Regions from separate parts of the Homo sapiens genome. Here region 2 is linked to region 1. The links are contacts of gene promoters, found by promoter capture Hi-C in human tissues and cell types (Jung and others, 2019). All regions are on one chromosome and are shown on one strand. The core of a region is centred on a gene start or on the middle of the fragment in contact, and the rest is flanking DNA. Distances in the headings are between cores, read along the strand shown.

Region 1 (3,062 bases), core at 167-2,666:
TAGTAGCTGGGATTACAGGCATGTGCAACCGCTCCCAGCTAATTTTATATTTTTAATAGAGACGGGGTTTCTCCCTGTTGATCAGGCTGGTCTCGAACTCCGGACCTCAGGTGATCCACCCGCCTCAGCCTCCCAAAATGCTGGGATTACAGGCATGACCCACAGCGCCCGGTCCTTATTTAACCTCTTGTTGTTCTTTCTCCCCAATCTTTCAATCTTCCTCAATGTCTATATATTACAGCCTCTTCTCTTATCTCTCCGTCTCCTCTGCTCTCCCTATTAAATTCTCTCTTCCCTGTTATACCCCTCTGTCCCCACTCTCCAGCACCTCAGATCCCCAGGTGTCCTCCCTGCTGTGGTTCTCCATCTGTTCTTGCCACCAGCACCACTCTGCTCTGTCTGCCCTGGCTCCAAATCCCTCCTCCTCTCCCTCACTCTGGTGAGCCTCCCTCTTTGCTGCCCCTCTCCCTACCTTGCTGTCCTTCATCTTTCTGTACATCTAGCTTTTCTCTACATTTCTCCAGTTGCTTTTCTCCTCCTGCTTTCTTAGTTTTTTTTCTTTCACTTTTGCTGTCTCTTGGCAAATTCCTAACCCATCCTCTACTTTGCCATCTGTTATGGGCCTTTCTCATTCTTCTTTTCTCTGTCTCTGGTTTTCTACTGCTCTCTCAGTCCCTCTCTCTATCTCCTGATCCCTTTGGCCCAGGCGGGTTTGGAGTAATCACAGGCGGGTTTGGAGTAAGACGCCTGCATCCCGTAGAAGCGCATTTTCCAGGGGGTGGAGCTGGACAGGAAAGAACACCTGGTATCATAGGACAAGCCCCTGCGACCCACCCCAACCCTGGCTCAGGGGAAGCGAAGACTTGGGGAGCAGCAGGGCCCGGCACCAGGAGGGACGTGGTGGGCGACGGCACCCTAAGACAAAGGTGGGACCTGCAGGATCCCAGGACCAGGCAGAGGACGCAGCCTCCCCGGGGCTGGGGCCGGGGCGCCGCGCTCCAGGTGCCAACTGGGGCGAGGCTGGGAGGCGCCCAGGGCTGGAATCCACCTCGCGGGTGAGGACTTTAAAAAGCACGGGGCGGGAATAGTCAGAAAAATGTTTTGAGCAGGAAAAATACGCGATAGGAAGTGTATACATTGCCCTATAGCAGAAAGACCGGGGACGGGACCAGCCTCCGAGCGACTTCAAACCCAAAAGCAAGCAACTTCCAGACTCTTACCGGGACGTCTCAATTTGCTCTGGGTGAAGGGAAGACAGGCGAGAATTTCCAGGTCCGTGGGGATCCCACGTCCCAGGGGCAGAAGCGCCGGGGACCTGGGAAGTGCAGACTTAATCCAAGGCAGAGCAAAACTCACGCGCCGTGGTAGGACCTTCACTCCACGCGATCCGCTTCCGGGTTTGTGCGCGCCCAGGACTGAAGCCAGGCCGGGGCAGGTTGGCTGGACCTGGGCGGGGTAGAGGCGGGGCCCCAGGCGGAGAGACCTTGCCCTTTAGAACCGGCAGAGGGAGGGCCCGGGGCGGGACCTGTGCTTCTCAGCCTCGCACTCAGCGCCTCTGTTTTTCGAGTTTTTGGAGGCGACAGCGGCCAGGAAGGCTGAGGCATGATTCAAAAGCCCTGGAATTATCTGGAACGGGAATGCAAACTAGAATGTGAAATGCAAAGCCCTGCCAGGGCGGAACATACGATTTCATGCTGATGGCCCACAGAACAGAACAGAAATCCTCTCCCTTTCTATTCTCCATTCACTCAGGAGGGAGGGTCCACCCCGTGCTCAGCTTCAAAGTGTTCCCTAGGGCCTCCGCCTGGGATGCGGGACGGAGAGCTCAGGCCAGGGAGGAGTGAGGTCACCACCTGCTGCCTAAACACAGCAGGGATGCGGGCACGAGGCGGAAGCCTGAGGTCCCAGCTACTCAGGAAGCAGCGGCGGGAGAATCCCTGAACCTGGGGGTCCAGGCCATCCTGGGCGACAAAGTAACACCCCCTAACTGCAGGGTCCTCTTCCTGATCTCTCTCTCGCTCTTTTACTTTTTTTTTTTTTTTTTTTTTTTGAGACGGAGTCTCGCTGTGTCGCCCAGGCTGGAGTGCAGTGGCACGATTTTGGCTCACTGCAAGCTCCGCCTCCCGGGTTCACGCCCTTCTCCTGCCTCAGCCTTTCGAGTAACTGGAACTACAGGAGCCCGCCTAACCCAAACAAAAACAAGACCGGGCGCGCTGGCTCACACCTGTAATCTCAGCACTTTGGGAGGCTGAGGCGGGCAGATCATGAGGTCAGGAGATCGAGACCATCCTGGCTAACACAGTGAAACCCCATCTCTACTAAAAAATACAAAAAAATTAGCCAAGCGTGGTGGTGGGTGCCTGTAATCCCAGCTACTAGGGAGGCTGAGACAGGAGAATGGAGTGAACCCGGGAGGCGGAGCGTGCAGTGAGCCAAGATCGTGCCACTGCACTCCAGCCTGGGCGACAGAGCGAGGCTACGTCTCAAAAAAAAAAAAGAAAAAGAAAAAGAAAAAGAAATATCTCCCCTAGTTTGTCTCCTTTTCCAGAATTTACCAGATACCAGTACACAGATACCAGTGCATACATTAATGTATGACTTTCATACATAGATTCTCTGATCTGATCCACAAAGAGCTAAATGTGCATCCAGATGTGGCCCCTGAACAATCCCTGCTGCCCAATATCACTGACACCTTGGGGTCCACACCCCATCTCCATCCATCTCTGGTGTGAGCCCTTCCCAGGACCATGCCCAGTGCAGCCTCTTCCCAAGCTCATGTCACTAGGTTATAGAAGATGGAATTTAAGTGAAGATGACAAGGACTGAGAAAAGGCATGGGTTAGTGTGAGCAAACGTGTGAGGCAGGATGCTTCAGACTCACAGAAGACTGGCTACTACAATACCTGGCATTTCAGAAAGGAAAGAGACAGAAGAATCCACCGAGGAATATTACTCCACCTGAGGAAGAGCCATCCCTGGCTCCTTTTCTTTGCTCCTCTTGGTGTCTTCCTCACGTAACATGAGTCTTTGGAAAATCAATCCTGTATGTAAAAAAAAAT
Region 2 (3,062 bases), core at 563-3,062, 290 kb after region 1:
GGCTGAGACAGGAGAATCTCTCGAACCCAGGAGGCAGAAGTTGCGGTGAGCCGAGATCGCACCATTGCACTCCAGCCTGGGCAACAAGAGCGAAACTTCATTTAAAAAAAAAATTATTGTCCGTGGAATAATAAACAGTTTTGTCTTAAGAGAAAGAAGCATTTTTATTTAGAACCAACACAATAAGAACTGGAATATGATTTTTAAAAAAATTCTATATTGACAAATTATAGTTATATATATTTACAGGAAACAAACTGATATTCTGTTATAGGTATACAATATGGACTGATGGAAACAAGCCTATTACCATATAAGTCATCTCAAAAACCTATCATTTACTCCTAATGTTTTCACCCAGTGACCAACATCTCCCTATTCCCTCCAGTCCCCAACCTGTGGTAACCCACATTCTACTCTTTGCTGCTATTAGTTTTATTGGTTTAGATTCCAAATGTAAGTGACAACATGCAGTACTTGTATTTCTGTGCTGAAGCCTGGAAAAACAGAATACGCACCCCATGTAAGACTGAGGATCAATGACAGAAGGATTTTGTTAGGTGTCTTTACGGTTATGCTGAGAACAATCTTAGAAGATAGAACCCACTCGCTTATCACACACCCCCATGAAAGTGGCAAAAGCAGAATGGAAGAAATGGCCGAGGGACCTCGACAGGCGGAGACGGCTGGAGACTCTTCCATGAGGTTTGGGGCAGCAGATGCCAAGGAGCAGCAGCCAATGTTTCCATCTCCTGAGCAGGTCTTCCACGCACAGGAAATGGGGTGGAACATAAACAGGTCTAGACGTCAGGACTAAGGACTATGGAGGCTTCCCCTCTGACCCATATGGACTAAGAACTGAGCACCATATGGAATTAAATACAGAGGGAGAGACCAAGAAAGAAAGCAGTTTCTTCAGAAGGAACCATAGAGTTCAAATGACAGGGTGTTGTCCATCATGATAAAGACTTTGCCTCTATCTCTAAGGCAACTTATTTTCCCAAAGAACTCTCTCATCTGCAGAGAGTTTCCCACTTTATTTATTTATTTATTTTGAGACGGAGTTTTGTTCTGTCCACCCAGGCTGGAGTGCAGTGGCATGATCTTGGCTCACTGCAACCTCCACCTCCCGGGTTCAAGCAATTCTCTTGCCTCAGCCTCCTGAGTAGCTGGGACTACAGGCACACGCCACCATGCCCGGCTAATTTTTTTTTGTATTTTTAGTAGAGATAGGGTTTCACAATGTTGGTCAGGCTGGTCTCGAACTCCTGACCTCAAGTGATCTGCCCACCTTGGCCTCCCTAAGTGTTGAGATTACAGGCGTGAGCTACTGTGCCCCCTCCCACACTCTAGTTAATGAGTGGCCTTCTCTCTGCCCATCTGAGCTCTTACCTGTGACCACGCCTTTGACACATTCCGGCGTTCTTGGTTTTCTTGCTATTTTCACACAGCTCTTCACAGTCCAGGGCTCTTTCCCTTCCTCCAACATGGAGATAATATTCATATCAAAATGACACAGTCCTGTTTATAAAAAGAAAGGATCACAATGTGCCGGGGCTTTTCCAGAATCCCAGCCCTATGTTTACATGAGAGGACATTATATGTGGATCTAAGAAAACTTCAAAAATTCATCCACTGGGCCAGGCGCGGTGGCTCATGCCTGTAATCCCAGCATTTTGGGAAGCTGAGGTGGGTGGATCACAAGGTCAGGAGATGGAGATCATGATGGCTAACATGGTGAAACCCTGTCTCTACTAAAAACATAAAAAAAAATTATCCAGGTGTGGTGGCGGGCGCCTGTGGTCCCAGCTACTCGGGAGGCTAAGGCAGGAGAATGGCATGAACCTGGGAGGCAGAGCTTGCAGGGAGCCTAGATCACGCCACTGCACTCCAGCCCGGGCGACAGAGCGAGACTCCGCCTCAAAAAAAAAAAAAAAAAATCATCCACTGAATGCCTCCTTCTGAATACCCAGGAAACATGGTACATGCTGATAGAAGGCTCTATTCCACCAACAACTTAATCCAAAGCAGAGAGGTAGAAAACAGGAAATCTGACATTTCAAAAGTCTAACACAATGTATTATGCATACAAAAGCTCTGAAACCTCAAATGATGAAGTACAAAGGAGGCAGAACATCTGAGAAAGGGGAAGATTAAAGTCCAGGTTTCCCATGATTAAGCTTTCCATTTCAGAGTCAACAGGACTTCAATCTCAGTCAAGCAATGCAGGGGCTCTCCAGGGACTCGTAAGGGAAAATGCAACAATAGACAAGAACAGATCTTGACTTCTGGAAGAAAGTCATCCTCACCCAGAGAAACAAGGTTCCAGTAGTTCTCCAACATCACGTCCCTGTATAAGATCCTCTGAGCAGGGTCCAGGCATTTCCACTCCTCCTGAGAGAATTCTATGGCCACATCCCTAAATGTCAACCGTACCTAAAATGAAAAACACATTTCACCAAGTGGCTAAGGGGAGAGTTCAAAATTTCACATAAAAGGAGAAGAGGAGAAAAATGTGAGAATAGGTTAAATTGAAGTGGGTGAGCTGACAGATCCAGATTGTGACAATGTGACATACAGATTTGGTCTTCATCCCCCTCTCCTGACATAAGAGCTCACTTGAAATCAGTGGAGTGATAAGTATCTTTTTGTACATTAATGGGATAATTGGTGTCTGGAGCACCTAGGTAGCTTCAGGATGGAGGGCGGTCACCGGAACTAAGGCTCGGTGGGTGGTCACTGGAAAGGCTGAGGCTCGGTTAGACTAAGCCTCTGTCCTCTCGGGAGGACAGAGGGAATGAAAGTTCAGTTGATCACCAATGCCAATAATGGAAGCAAGGCCTCCATAATGGGGCCTCCATGAAAACTCAAAAAAGACAGAATACATGAGAGAATACATCCCAGCTCCTCACTCCTTTCCCATATCTCAACTAATAGATCACTTCCATCTAGATGTTCATCTGTGTGCTTTGTAGCATCTTCTATAATAAATGGGTAAATATAAGTGTTTCCCTGTGTTATGTGAGCCACTCAAGCAAACTAATCAATTTCAAGGAGGGGGT

The links. The method cuts DNA at HindIII sites, captures the fragments that hold promoters and counts their contacts. A contact is called where the count stands out against the background at its distance.
Region 2: a fragment that was not itself captured here is called in contact with the fragment with the promoter of ZNF600 in region 1 in 2 of the 25 tissues and cell types used here (small bowel and spleen).

Annotation. Positions count from the first base shown.
Region 1 is chr19:52,785,375-52,788,436 of GRCh38, forward strand. It overlaps ZNF600 (zinc finger protein 600), which reads right to left and starts at 1,417. Exons shown (of 6, transcript NM_001321866.4): 1 at 1,221-1,417. RefSeq lists enhancers at 377-1,235, 1,236-2,093 and a silencer at 1,426-1,575. The HindIII fragment of the contact is 28,786 bases long and covers 1-3,062 here.
Region 2 is chr19:53,072,748-53,075,809 of GRCh38, forward strand. It overlaps ZNF160 (zinc finger protein 160), which reads right to left. Exons shown (of 6, transcript NM_001322131.2): 4 at 2,310-2,436; 5 at 1,393-1,521. Among named protein-coding and RNA genes, the nearest start is that of ZNF160, 29 kb to the right of the region's middle. The HindIII fragment of the contact is 9,128 bases long and covers 1-3,062 here.